Linked DNA regions of Homo sapiens: region 2 is linked to region 1. Evidence: promoter capture Hi-C in 16 types of primary human blood cells and fetal thymus (Javierre and others, 2016). All regions are on one chromosome and are shown on one strand. Each heading gives the region's core, a stretch centred on a gene start or on the middle of the fragment in contact. The rest is flanking DNA. Distances are from core to core; before and after follow the strand shown. Region 1 holds the start of RAP2C-AS1 (RAP2C antisense RNA 1). Region 2 holds the start of PABIR3 (PABIR family member 3).

Region 1 (7,369 bases), core at 2,294-4,793:
CACTTAAATGTTTTATTTTAAATTGAATGGTATGCATTTATTCCAGTAAAATCAAACACCTTACAATACACTTAAATTCACTAGAAACTACTGTAACAGTGAGCAACTCCTGGGAAGGACAGTGCAAGGGGAGTCTGGGTGGGAAGAAGTCATTTTTTTTTTTTTTGCCTGTGTTTGTTTTTACTACTTGTTTCCCCATGCGTATTACTTTTTCCAAGTAGTTACAACGAATTACAAAAGATAAGAGCGTTAGCAATTCTCCAGTAGCATCAGTTTTGGGAGGTGGGGGCAAGTATTGATTTAATACAATATTATAGACTTAATTATAAAAATCACCATTTTCGGTAATATTTCATAATTTTAAAAGTTTGCCTTAAATAGAAAATGTATGCTTAATTGGAAGTCATAGTAAGTACAGAATATTCACATGTGGGCCTACGGAAAAGCAAGGGACTATGAAAATCTATAAAAATATAGTTATTTGATATTTGCATCAATTTGGTTTGATAATATATCAACTCAGATTTCTAGGTTACGCTTATTTCCCATTGTCTTTATGGAAACATAAGTTCAGCTGAAAATCCAAACTTAGGGCATTTGGGCTCAAAAGAGTTTACACCTCCACTGAAATAACGGCACAGTTTTTCACTCCCAATTCATGTCTATAACACAAATGGATATAACAGAAATCTTATGAAACACCCTTCAAAAGACTCTCAGCCTCCAGAGAGTAAGCTGATAGAATAACAAATCTCCTGAGGATCCTTTAGGGAAAAAATGCCTGTCAAACAGCACCTTCAGTACTTTGGTACTTTCTGGGGGAAAATGCTTTTATGATACTATTGTTTGGGAATTTATGCCTACATAAAATGAATTTAGTTTGGTCTCAATAGCTTTGATTTATTTCCCCAGAATTTATCATCTTAAAAAAAAAAAATCCCTGAAGTTGTTCTATCAGGTTACTGGGAAAGTTCACTATAGTACTTTAATTTAAAATACTAAAGAAAGTGGAATTAGCACATTGTATTGGCTAAAGCACTTAAGGTCTCTTAAGTAAGCTACATTAAGTGCATACCTTTAAATGCAGAAAAAATATATCCATTTCCTAAATCAATGGAGGTCAATATAATGGGTCAATATGAGGTTATTCATTTTCAAGGGATAAATAGAAACATACATTGCATATCCTAAAATAACGTTAAACCTTCAGTCTGTTTCCCAGTGAAGGACAGGACAGATTTTCTAAGAGATTGGACCACATCCAGTTTGGCCACCCAGCCGGAGTAAGAAATCTGCACTTGTTCAGTGTTCCCAGACCCACGTATTTTCTGTAAATACAGGCAATGTTACCAGAAACAATTTGGATCAACTGCAGAAAAAGAGTCATTCCTGATTTTTGTTGGTTATTAATTCTAGGTACTAGTCTTTTCTATTAGTAACTTTTCTTCCTACTACACGCCCCAAGTAATTAAGTAAAATGCCTAGAAGGCAGGTCTTGAGTTCTTCGTCTTGCAACACTAAGATTTATGAATCTAGTTGAGAAACTTGAGAGAGAAGGGGAGGGCGGCGGGAGGGGGTGTTGGGGGGTGGGAGGGGAAGGTGTGGGTGGGACAGACACAGAGGACTTATCTGTGCAACAGATAATCGGCTCCAAATAATTTTTTCAAAGTGCTCTATTTACCCGAGATTATTTGTTAGATGTTTTGTCGTGTAAGTTAATCAATACTTGTTGAATTGAGCAAGCAACTTCAGAAGGTTATATTCCAGGCGAAATATACACAGACTGACATTTCTTTTTCACTTTTCTTTCACTTAAAAATAGCTTTAAAATATTTGTTGACGCTTGTTACTTTTTACTACGCTCTATAGAAACAACCCGATAGTCTTCCATGGCAGGAGTAACCTCAAAAATGCGTCATGTCTAACTTTCAAAAGCAAAGCACAGTCATTAATGCACGGTTCAAGCAACCCAGAAGTCGATGTCGGATTACCACACCCCCTTCTAACAAATTACAAGACTTGGTTTGGTTACCTGAAAAGACTGTTGATTAACCAGGCTATAAACCAGGATGAAACCTTGGCCGTTTTTGATGTAGAGATCTCTCATGGAGGCAAACTGCTCAGTTCCTGCGGTGTCCAGAATTTCCAGCACGGAGGGGGAAGAGTCCACTTCGATCTCTTTGCGGTAGAAATCTTCAATGGTGGGGTCATATTTCTCAATGAAAGTCCCAGTGACAAACTGCACAGTAAGGGCAGATTTGCCAACCCCTCCACTCCCTAACACCACTACCTTGTATTCCCTCATGAGTCTCACCTTCACCAACTCCTACCAGAGGGGGGGAAAGATCACCCCGCTAGCTGTGGCGCGGCTAGACGAGGCGGAAGGTGGGCGGAAATCTGCGAACTGGGGAGGAGAGTGCAGAGGAGCAGAGGGCCCAACCGGGGAAGAAGAGGAAGTTACAGGAGGGGGAGGGGAAAGAGCGTAGAGTCGGGGAGGGTGGGGAAGGGATGGTAATGCCCTTCCTATAGGAACTGCAGCCCGAGCAGGGGGCGTGGGGAGGAGGGCGAGCCTGGGAAAAGCCCGGCGAGGGTGGCGAGGAGGCGCGTGCCCCCGGGAGGGAAAGGGTGGGGGCTGCGGCGAGGGGACCCTGCGGCGAGGCGGACGTCGGAGGAGCCCGCAGCCCGGGGCTGCCCGGCACTCCTCCCCCGCCCTTCACACAAAGGGGCCCAGGGACCCCGCTTCCTGCTCGCGCAGCCCAGCCGGCTCAGGCCTGAGGGCTCCGTTCCAGTTACCGCTGCCCGGGCGGGTTTCTGGGCCCCGGCTCCCGCGGGGGTCGTCCGGCCTGTGAAGGGGAGAAGGACGCACATTACCCGGCTGACCCCCGCCCCGAACCTGCGGCGCCGGCCGCCGCCTCCCCCAACTCCCACCCGGATCAAGCTACTGCCGCTTACCCCGCCGTCCGCACCCGCCCGGCCGCCGGGGAGGCTCTGTCACGCCAAGGCCATGGCCACCCGCTGGCTCCTCTGTCTCTCCGCTGCCCCAGCGCTGCTGCTCGCCGCGGGGAAAGAAGCGGGGGCCTTCCGCGGCGGCCGCAGGGACTCCAGGCGAACCCACCTCTTTTTTTTCTCACCCACCCCCCACCCCCACCCCCACCCCCACCCCCACCCCCACCAAGCACACACCCGGAAGGGTTTCCCTGACACACTGGCTGAGGTGCCCCAGTTCCCCGAGACTGGACGGGATCACTTCCGGTGGGGAAAGTCCCACCTCTTCGGGGCGAGCCGGGTGGCGCTGGAGCCGCGCCCTGCTGAGCGAGCGAGCCGGCCGGGGACGGTTTCGGGTCGGGACTCCGGCTTCGGGAACGGGCCTCTGGAAACCTGCGACGTCAGTCCTTACCCGCCCGCGGCTGCCGCGGACCGTCCCACCCCCAAACCCGTAGAAGCCCCTCCGACCTGCAACCTCCAGCCGCCCGGCCCTAGGACTTGAGCGGCTCCCTGGCCGGTGCGGAACCTGCGGGCTAATAATCTAGCGACCGGGAGAACGCCAAACATCCCTGGACTAGAAGTTGCAGGGGAAATCAAACAGCCCAGAAAGTTTATTCTCCTTGCTGGTATTTCTTCCACTTGCTATTTTGCTGAGAGATGCATGCAAACTACCCTTAGACTTTCAGATGCAGTGCGTTTTACTTAGCCGTGCCTGACAAACACACAGAACTTTTACCGTCTGGTAGATCCGCCTTGACTTTACCAGCGAATACTAAAGTCACTTAAAAAAAAATCACAAGGCTCGAAAACAGCAGCATTAGAAGTAGACTTTATGGTACTCTGCTCAGCTATGTTCTCATTTGATTCCAACCACTACACGGCAGAAAAGGTAACCAATATTCAAGAAAGATTTGATTGGAAACGGTTTAGGCCTAAAGACTAATTTATTTTAATCGTTGATTATGTATAACAATTTGCTTGGCTGGCTCTTACATGCTGAAGTTTTGTTTTAAAGGCCATCCTATGTAGTCTTTGAAATTCAAAAGCAAGTAGTAACTCTGGTGTTAGATTCTAAGTTTCTATTTTTAGATAAAATTGTTACTTCCGACTATCTTTCCCTTTGCTAGCTTTCTATTTGTAAACTTTGTGTCGGATCCACAGAGCCCCAGGGCCAGGAGTCTAGGCTGTATTTTAGGTGTGTCACTTTCTTTTCAATTCAAGCATGTACCCAGAAACCTGCGAGACTCAGTGGCCAGCCTAGCAAAAATGACTCCAAATTCCCTTACTTACAAGCCCTAAATGGCCAAACTCTATAAAGAGATTTATTACTCAGCCTAAATTGTTGGACATTAGAACACAGGCGAATCATAGTAGTGTGAGGTCCCACTGTCCCTCCCTGAGTATTCCCCAATGTCACTTACAGTCTTCAAAGGAGAGTTTAGTTCAATTTCTCCTTGACCTCAGGCCGGTGCCATCTCTCCAGCGAAGTCCCCAGCTCTGGCTCCAGCTGGCCTGGGCCCTGTGTCGTATCAGAGGCACTGCCCTCTGCTGGAAGGGGTTTGGTCTGTGAGTTATGAGTTTCCCCACAGGTCACTGCTCCTTTCACACGTGCTGTTGCCTGATTTGGAGCTCTGCTGCTCATCTCCCTGCCTAGCTGTCTCCAGACTGTCTGGTGGGATTCACAGCCCTCCACCAGCCGTGCTTGTAACTGAGTCTGGAAATTCCTCTTCTGATCCAGCCAGTGTTGAGCAATCGTGGCAAGTCTTTGCTCTATTACTAAACTGTCAAAGCAAGGAGTTCTTTTTCAGGTCATCCCACCTGTTGGCAATTCTAATATCTCTGAATGTGTTGGTCATGCTTAGGAGAGAGTTCTTTGTTTCTCCACGCAGTGAAACATACTCCTCCCCTCAGTACAGCGTCCTGTGGGGTCACTCTCGTCAACTACAGTGGACAAATATTACACTCAGTCTAAAGATCCTTCTAAACTTTCTTAGGAAGGGTATTCATTACAGCATTGATTAGGAAATCAAACAATTGGAAGAAGCTTAAATGTCCTTCAGTAGGTGATTTTTAAAAGTTTCATAGCTCTCTATATCTATTATCTATCATCTATCTATCTATCTACCAACCTACCTACCTACCTATCTGTATTCACAGAATAGGATATTATGCAGCTACTTTAAAAGAGAAAAGCAGATTTGTAAGTGTTTATATAAAAAGATGGCCAAGATATATTGTAGGGCTGAAAAAGCAAGATACTGAACAAATGTCTAGTTGCTACTGTTTATGTAAAACGCAGGTGTGTAATAGTTACATAGCCATTCAAATCTGAAACAAAGTAATTATGGGTGAGGACTATTATGAAATGGCTTTTATTTCTCCATATTTTAATTTATAAACAATAATTGGGAAAAAGGAAGTAAATATAACTTTATAATATTTTTAAAGGAGGAACAAAAGAAAGTTGTTGATCTTGGTTTTGTAAAAAAAAAAAAAAAAAATCCTGACTGTCTAGGGGTCAGTGGACAGGTCCGCCCAATTTAAACAAATTCCCTACCCTTGCTTGCCCTCCCCAAACATCTCTATACTTAGAAAAGTATTTTCACATACATTATCTCATTAGACTCCTGTTGTTTGCTAGTGTACTCTCATTAAGCAATGAGGGTATAAAGAGCAAGCAGAAGAGTGCGGCCTGGCAGTTGAGAGCTAAGGCTCTGAAATGAGACAGAGGTGCATTAAAATTGCAGCTCCGCCACATTCTAGCTCTGTGTCCCCAAGCAAGTGATTTCACTTGTCTGAGCCTCTAACTCCTCACTTGTAAAAAGGAGATAAGAAGTTAACGTGAAAATGTAATGAGGTATTACAGGTAAAGTGCTTAGCACAGTCCCTTGCACATTATAAAGCCTCAATAAATGCTATTTGGTTTTTATTTAAAAGATTTAATGAATTGTTAATTTTTAAAAAATAGCAAACATGGGGGTAACAAAATTTTAAAAGCTCAAATATCTGCAAGTGGCACGAAAATAATAATTCAGTTACTCTTCACAAAGATATTTATTGTTAAAAGCTTCTTATGTTTTTCAGGGGGGAACATTATTCATATGTCAGTGTATCAATCTACCTTCTATATATATTTTTAAAAATTACTGTACTACAAAAGTAATCAACTGTACACACTATTTTTTACCTTGCTTTTTAAACTTTAATTAATTAATTTTTTTAAGACAGTGTCTCCCTCTGTTACCCAAGCTGGAGGGCAGTAGCATGATCATAGCTCACTGCAGCCTCAACCTCCTGGACTCAAGGGATCCTCCCACCTCAGCCTCCCGAGTAGCTAGGACTACAGGTACATGCCACCACACACAGCTAATTTAATTTAATTTAATTTTTTTGGTAGAGATGGAGTCTTACTATGTTGCCCATGGTGGTCTCCAACTCCTGAGCTCAAGGGATCCTCCCGACTTGGCCTCCCAAAGTGCTGGGATTAAAGGCATGAGCCACCATGTCTGGCCTTCTTAATTTTTATTTCATGGCTGTATCATAAGCTAATTAGCCAGCTCCCCTTTGAAGGACACTGATTGCTTCTAGGTTTTTGCACTAAACGCCTTGGACATATATCATTGTCAGTTAATGTTTAGGGTGAATTTCTAGTAATTCAATAATTGAAACAAAAGGCACTTGCACTTAAAATTCTTCTGGTAAGTATTGCCAAATTGTCCTTCAGAAAGGTCACACCAATTCACATTCCCACCAATGCAGTATGACCGTATCATTTTATAACCTCACAGTAGGTATTACTAATTTTAGCATTTTATAGTGATTGTTACTTGCTTTAGGGTATTTTCAGGACTAACAAATGCAGGGCAGCGTTTTAGAAGGAATTTGGACTTCAGAGCCAGACAGTCCTAACACTGCCCTTTTGCAAGCTACACCTCCATTCCTTCATTTGTAAAGTTGGGCATAATAGCAGTATCTAACTCATAGAATAATAAATGAGAAATCCATTCAAAGCATTTAGCCTTCCAAATATTAATTGCTCAATAAATAGAAACTGCTCAAGTAATAATTTTCTACTCCAAAGGCTTGAATATGGGAAGAGGGGAATGGGAGGACTTCTCTAGAGATCATGCCCTTGAGATTCACAACTTTTGCTTTAATTCTGCATCAACCTCCTTTCCAAAGTATTGCTCAGGCATTATTTTAAAGAACACAACCCATTTTTACCATAGTGTGAAGAAACCACAGTGTATGCACTATATGCAGATAATATAAGTAATAGGGCCATAATCTCATTTTTTGAAATTAGTTTGGCACAAGTTTAAAGTGCTGGATGTTTGCTACAGGCACCAGTTGCTTACTTATCCCTTTCTTCTTTTCGAGTTGT
Region 2 (7,369 bases), core at 2,730-5,229, 2.6 Mb after region 1:
TCACTGTTTATGCTTTCTGCCTGCAGTATGAGGGATTTGTAAGTACTTTTAGATAGTTTCCTTTAAATTGCCTGTATTTTTCTCCCAGCTAGATTAGAAACAACAACCTCTGTTTTTGAGCAACTTAGGTATCTCTTTTTATCTCAAGGTCTCAGCAACCCTTAAGGCCAGCCCCACCTCCTACTCCCTGCTCAAAAGAAATTATAATACATTCTTTTGTTCACAATAGCTACTAAACAATCATTTGTTGACCACATGCATGCACTGACCTCAGGAGCTTAACAATTTAGGAGAACGCGAGGAGAATAATGCTACTTTGGCCATCATTTCTAGGTTTTATTAACATCATTCTTGCCTGCTAGTTTTTTTTTTTTTTTTAACCTTTCATGTAAATCTTTTGGGAAGGTTTGGGGTGTTTGTGGTTTGTAGATTTGGGTTTGACTTGTATTTGACTTGCTCTTGTGGTAACTAAAGGTTACAACGTAGCTTCAAGGTTGTCATGACAACTGGTAAAATAAAGAGCTGATTATCACATGTTTGTTGGTTCCCTTTTATAGGTGAGGGCCTGGGACAGACGCAGCAGACTGGGATATGCAAAGAGAGGAGTAGCCTAATTGTCAAGTCTAGATCTAACAAAAGCAGTGTCCCAAGATCATGGCATATTTCCCTGGAACTGGAAGGACTGATCAAGAAACACAGCTAGGTTGGTATAATAATGTGTGCGTAGAAATGGGGAGAAGTAAAAACAATTTCTTTAATGTTGTGTTTGCCATTGTAGCATATAGAATTCTTGCTGTTTTTGTATTACTTGTTCCTTTTGATATTCCAATTTGTGTATGTACTATGAGTCCTATTTATATCTTTACAGGTTTGGGGTTCCTGACATGTAGCTGTTCTTTTGTAAAAGAGAGCTCCTTCTCTTTGATAATAGCTGTAAACTTATTACCATCTCATATATTTAGTTATTTCATATTACTCCTTTTCTTAGAAACATAGTCCCTTAGTCACTCTTCCCTTGTCATTTTATTATACCTATTTTCTTAGTGTTGTTGTACTTATTTAAAAATTAGATACTTGTAATGCTTAGGCAGGATGAAATTTTGTCTATTTATTCAAAATATACGTATGAAACCTTACTACCTGCCAAGAATACTAGCAAAAGTTGAAAATTAAAATGAACACAATGGAGGTAAGATTCCCTTGTTCACTGGCCTGCTTCATATTTTTCTGTTATTCAGACAATTTGTTTTTTGACTCTGTTCTGTCTTTAATCACTGCCTTCTGCATTCATCCTGAATTTACTCAGCTTTAACCACCATCTTTTATAAACGTTCAGGTACCCTGGGAATTTTAACAGTGGCTTTTAGGACATCTTGATACTAGCCTGAATTCTCCTGCTATCTAATTATGTGCCATTAATCTCTTTGGAATTTTATCCAACTGTAAAATAGAAATGATTTACCTACTTTACAAGATAACTATGAAAGATAGGCTATTTAAACCTGCATTTATTCATAAAATAATTTCAGAAGTATTTATCAAGTGCTTATGAGTACAGAAATTCAAGGAGATATTCTGAGGCATCTCATTTTTTTTTTTACTTAAACAGAAGGGCAGAGGAATCTTGGCTTTGCCACTTAGTAGTTGCAACTTGAGTAAACCCCTCTGGGCTTTGGTTTCCTCCTGTGAAAAATGGGCATTGTGATGGTGCCTACCTCAAAGAATTATTGTAAACTTTAAATGCAATCACCTATTTAAAGTGATTAGGACAGTACCTGGCACATAGTAAGTGCCCAACAAACGGTAGCTATTACTAATCTGTCTTATATAAGGAATGGAGACTCCACATCATCCTCATGTCTGGGATTTAAGTAATCTAATTCTGCCTAATATACTCAAGTTTGTCTTATTCTATTCCCAGAATGAACAAAGAATACATATTTATTACCTTACATGTCATAACTTGTCACGAACTATCTCAAGACTGTCCCATTATTTTAAGTTCACCACTGGGTAGCTGAGCAGGGTTGATGATTGAACCAATCCAGATAAGTATGTGAAAACATTTTGTAGGCCAGGCGTGGAGGCTCATACCTGTAATCCCAGCACTTTGGGAGGCCGAGGCGGGTGGATCACCTGAGGTCGGGAGTTCGAGACCAGCCTGACCAACATGGAGAAACCCCATCTCTACTAAAAATACAAAATTAGCTGGGAGTGGTGGCACATGCCTGTAATCCCAGCTACTCTGGAGGCTGAGTCAGGAGAATCGCTTGAACCAGGGAGGTGGAGGTTGTGGTGAGCCAAGATTGCGCCATTGCACTCCAGCCTGGGCAACAAGAGCGAAACTCCGTCTCAAAAAAAAAAAAATGTTATCCGTAAAGTGCTATACCAGTGTTATGACTATTTTAATTAATAACTCCCATTTCACTAGGTTTATTTGCCTTGTCTGCCAGTTCTCTATATGGTTACTAAAATGTGTGGTTTTACAAAATTATTAGCATGGAGTTAAGATTTCAGTACTCAGTGTGGCTCATTAAGTGATGGTGAAAATTTCTAAAAGAGTAGTTCTTAAAACGATATGAGCCATGGCAGCATTCTTAGAATGTATGTAGCTTCTAATACTACCTGAAATGAAAACACTGATTTGCATTGATACTAAATTCTGAGATATTTGTTTTTAAAAAAGCCTCACTGCTTTAACTCAAATCTTTGTAAATTAGCTGAGGTCTTTATTTTTTATATGAATAGCTGTGAGGAGCCAGATTATATATAATGTAAAAATACACACTGAGGCAGGCGCGGTGGCTCACGCCTGTAATCCCAGCACTTTGGGAGGACGAGGCGGGCGGATCACCTGAGGTCCAGGAGTTCGAGACCAGCCTGGCCAACATGGTGAAACCCCGTCTCTACTAAAATACAAAAATTAACCAGGCGTGGTGGCGAGCACCTGTAATCCCAGCTACTCGGGAGGCTGAGGCAGGAGAATCGCTTGAACCTGGGAGGTGGAGGTTGCAGTGAGCCGAGATCGCGGCCACTGCACTCCAGCCTGAGCAACAAGAGCGAAATTCCATCTCAAAAAAAAAAAAACAAAAAACTGTACGATTATGGTTTAAAAAAGAAAGAAAGAAACCACACTGAAAACAGTAATTCGTTTGCCAAATGAGCTCAGTTAGGTTAGCACCTTAGCAAGACCCTTTGGGACCAAGTGGCCTCTAAGCACTTAGGTAGCAGTATCTTTTTTTTTTTTTTTTTTTCAGACTTTTGCTTTTCTAAAATTACAAAGGTGTAGTGTGTCTGCTGTTACAGGATGGAAAAATGCATCATAGGAGGTTAGAAGCTTGTTGGCCTCAGTCATAAAGGGATAAGAAAAATGAGAATTAGGCATAGGGCAGGAAGGACCTCACTCCTCCCAACGCTTTCATTTCTAAATAATGCTTAAGGAAACCATGCCAGGGTTAGTAAAAGAGTAGAGGCACAACCACGGTAAGTGGGCATTGGGGAAAGAGGAAGGAGGGCAGGACATGGGGATAAAGCGGTTTCTTAACTGCGCGTGCGCCCCTGGCAAAGCTGACTAAGGCGCCTGAAGTGACGTCATTGCCTGCATCACAACAGGCGTCGTCCGGCTGATAGCTTATCGCAGGCTCTGAGGGGCGGGACCCAACTGATTGTCAAAGGCGGCAGATTGTAGTTTTTGTTTTGGCCGGAAAGGCTTACCATGAGTTGCCAGGGCTGAGAGAGATGGAGAAGGATTCGCGGCGGTGACAGATTAAATTCCCCAGTTACATTATAGACTTGGAGGTGGGGGATCTTCTCATCGTTAGAGGCCCCGATCATGGGAGATAGGCGGTTCGGAGCCAGTTCTGCCTAACTTTGTGTTCACTGATGTTAGGGCTGCTAGGGCTGCAAAGGTGGGCACCCCTACTCGCCTAAGAGCTTTCTCCTCTCTTCTCTTTTTCCCCTTTGCCTCTCTCCTTACATCACCTGCCCACTAAGTAGACTTGTCCTTGTGTGGACGGGAGCCGGAAAGCCTTGAGAACTTATTCCTCGACCCGGACATGGCACAGGAGAAAATGAAACTAGGTTTCAAGTCGCTGCCGAGTTCCACTACCGCAGACGGCAACATTCTGAGAAGAGTCAACAGTGCCCCTTTGATCAATGGACTTGGGTGAGCCGGGTTGAGATACTGGAGGAGGCAAGCGGTGGGGAGGAGGTGTTCGGGAAAGTGATTTCCTATAGAATTCCCGTCCCTTTATTTGTTGAGGTTCTGCAGGTAACTCCCTTGTTCCTGGTGTCCGGAGATCCCACCCTCAACCTTGGGTGGGGGTAGTGGGACGGGCTGACCTGAGGGGGAGCGCGCACCCACCCTGAGGTTGACAAACATCTGAATCTGAACATCCTCCCCTGATAGTCCACTCGGACCCGAAAGTAGCAGCCAGTTGGTGTGGAGCACGGCTTTTTTCTAACTTCAACCCATTTCTTACCCACTCCTTTGAAGAAACTTAGTATCCTCCCCCACTCACCTCCAGATCTTCTGCCATGACTGTAATATTTGTCATTTCAGCTGCTTTGTCACCTCTGACCTTCACCTCCAGCCGCTTGAATGGAAATGGTTGTCAAGCAAATAAGCTTTGGACTTTTTTACATTTTTTTTTTTGTCTTTTTTTGAGACGGAGTCTTGCTCTGTCGCCCAGGCTGGAGTGCATTGGCACGATCTCAGCTTACTGTAACCTCCGCCTCCTGGCTTCAAGCAATTCTCATGCCTCAGCCTCCCTAGTAGCTAGGATTACAGGCGCCCACCACCACACCTGGTAATTTTTTGTATTTTTATTTTTTATTTATTTGTTTATTTATTTTTGAGACGGAGTCTCACTCTGTCGCCCAGGCTGGAGTGCAGTGGCGTGATCTCGGCTCACTGCAAGCTCCACCTCCCGGGTTCACGCCATTCTCCTGACTCAGCCTCCCAAGTAGCTGGGACTACAGGCGCCCACCAACACTCCCGGCTAATTTTTTGTATTTTTAGTAGAGACAGGGTTTCACCGTGTTAGTCAGGATGGTCTTGATCTCCTGACCTCGTGATCCGCCCGCCTCGGCCTCCCAAAGTGCTGGGATTACAGGCGTAAGCCACCGTGCCCGGCCTAATTTTTTGTATTTTTAGTAGAGACAGGGTTTCACCATGTTGGCCAGGCTGGTCTCGAACTCCTGGCCTCAGGGGATCCGCCTGCCTCAGCCTCCCAAAGTGCTGGTATTACAGACGTGAGCCACTGCTCCTGGCCTACACCTATTTTTTATTGGAGCAGAAAGTTTTGGTACCACAGAAGCTTGATCTCCTAAATTACACATTCTCACTGGGTGATACTTCCCCCAAGGGGAAGAGAAAATAGTTCTTGGGGGAGTGTGAAAAATTTTTACTCTTTTTATGTATAAAGCGCAGATATACATACAGTATGTACACAGATATATACTATATATGTGTTATTAAAATTTCACGAAGGGGGAGCAATTAGGGGAAAAATGTCTAAAAAGGCTTTTTAGAGGGTCAATAATGAAAAAAGGATTTAGAAACACTACACTAAATGATGGTTAACTGTATTTCTGAAGATCTGGGATTACTAAATCTTGTTTCCTTTTTTTTTTTTTTTTAAGACGGAGTCTCACTGTGTCGCCCAGGCTGGAGTGCAGTGGCATGATCTCGGCTCACTGCAACCTCTGCCTCCCGGGTTCAAGCGATTCTCCTGCCTCAGACTCCCGAGTAGCTGGGACTTCAGGCACCCGCCACCACGCCCACCTAATTTTTTGTATTTTTAGTAGAGACGGGGTTTCACCGTGTTAGCCAGGATGGTCTTGATCTCCTGACCTTGTGATCCGCCCACCTTGGCCTCCCAAAGTGTTGGGATTACAGGCGTGAGCCACTGCGCCTGGCCTAAATCTTACTTCTTAAACTAGACTTTTAAAATGAGATGTTGGATTTCACATTTCAGTATTATAAGGTTTTCTAGATACCGTAAAAATGTCTGAAAAATGCATTCACTACATATGTTACTAACTTTGCTCTTCACCTTTTGTTGCATCATACTAATTGATAGTTGTAATTCACAGTACCATAGACTATCAGGAAGGGATTCAGAGACCAGCTTTACCCTCCTTGTTTAACATATGAGGAAACTGAGGCCCATAAATCTCCAAAATGACGTTTAGTGGCAGAGCCAGTACTAGGAAGCTCTGTTTCCTGACTCCTAAACTACTGTTCTGGCCACTACTAACCAATACCTAAGCTGATTAACTCTAAATGAATGCAGCTTTTGGGTCATTTGAGGTAGGAGAGAATATATTGTTCACAAAATGAAAAGCAAACTAAGATTGACCAAAAAAAAATACATTACCTTTTTAAAATAGGCAGGTAGAAAAACATAGAAGGGGGACTCTGCATGTTGTGCTGAGAACAAGAACATTTTATTCACTCAGGATTTTGCTCTAATTCTGTTGTGGGAAAAAGGAATTATGGGACCCACTCTACTAGTAGAAGAGAGCAGTAGGGAGAATGTTGGATTTATTGAAGACAATATAAAAAGAAGAAATAGGTTGCAAATAGACGATGGAAGATGTGTACTGGAAGGAACCTGTGGATCCTCTTTAATGTATTAAATACACCAGAGAAGGAGTGGACCCTTCCCTAATCCTTAAAGCCCTGGAAACAGAGAGATCTCAGTTATCCCTTCATACCTTGCTTTGTTCTGCAAAGGATTTTTTTGTTTTGTTTGTTTGTTTTTTGCTTATATTAGAGCATAGCTACAGTGTTACATTCCATAGCTTAAGATCCTGATGCATGAAGTAAAATTTGTACAGAAAGATAAGGGTCACTAGCATATTTCTGTAGTAGGAGTTTAAAGATACAGAAACCACAAAGTGGACGGAGTCCAGGGACTCTAGTCTGTCAGAAAGAAGTAACATAGGAATGATGTGTGACATCCCTGAGATTAGGGGACTTGCCCAGATGATCTGAGGGCATATTTTGTGCTGTTGTAGAAAATGTAGGGCATAGTCAGAGAAGTTATTCTGAAGCAAGAAAAATTTAGAGTAGGATTACACTGAGCCTTAGTTGAATTCATTTTCACCTCAGTTCTCATTTGCATATGTATACTGCTCACTTTTCTCCCTTTTTTTTTCCTTCCTTGGCCCTCTAATACTTGAGTACTTCCTCTTTCTAAACTATACCTGGCCAGTAAAGCATTCTTTTCAGAAAGGTGAAAGTCACTAGCATATTTCTTTAGTAGGAATTAAAGATATAGAAACCACAAAGTGGACAGAGTTCAGAGACTCCAGTCCCTCAGAAAGAAGTAACATAGGAATGATGTGTGACATGCCTGAGGTC

The links. The method cuts DNA at HindIII sites, captures the fragments that hold promoters and counts their contacts. A CHiCAGO score of 5 or more calls a contact.
Region 2: a fragment that was not itself captured here is called in contact with the fragment with the promoter of RAP2C-AS1 in region 1 in 3 of 17 cell types (total B cells, non-activated CD4 T cells and naive CD4 T cells); the score reaches 6.5 in total B cells.

What each region holds. Positions count from the first base shown.
Region 1 is chrX:132,214,964-132,222,332 of GRCh38, forward strand. RAP2C-AS1 (RAP2C antisense RNA 1) reads left to right here and starts at 3,544. Exons shown (of 3, transcript NR_110410.1): 1 at 3,544-3,874. RAP2C (RAP2C, member of RAS oncogene family) reads right to left here and starts at 4,484. Exons shown (of 6, transcript NM_001271186.2): 1 at 4,407-4,484; 2 at 3,269-3,378; 3 at 2,953-3,049; 4 at 2,033-2,843. The coding sequence starts at 2,305. RefSeq lists silencers at 2,474-2,913, 2,924-2,973 and enhancers at 4,406-4,475, 4,806-4,855. The HindIII fragment of the contact is 10,936 bases long and covers 1-5,027 here.
Region 2 is chrX:134,803,544-134,810,912 of GRCh38, forward strand. PABIR3 (PABIR family member 3) reads left to right here and starts at 3,694. Exons shown (of 11, transcript NM_001388447.1): 1 at 3,694-3,798; 2 at 3,997-4,165. The coding sequence starts at 4,056. RefSeq lists enhancers at 4,051-4,210, 4,596-5,552 and a silencer at 7,088-7,157. The HindIII fragment of the contact is 1,289 bases long and covers 3,336-4,624 here.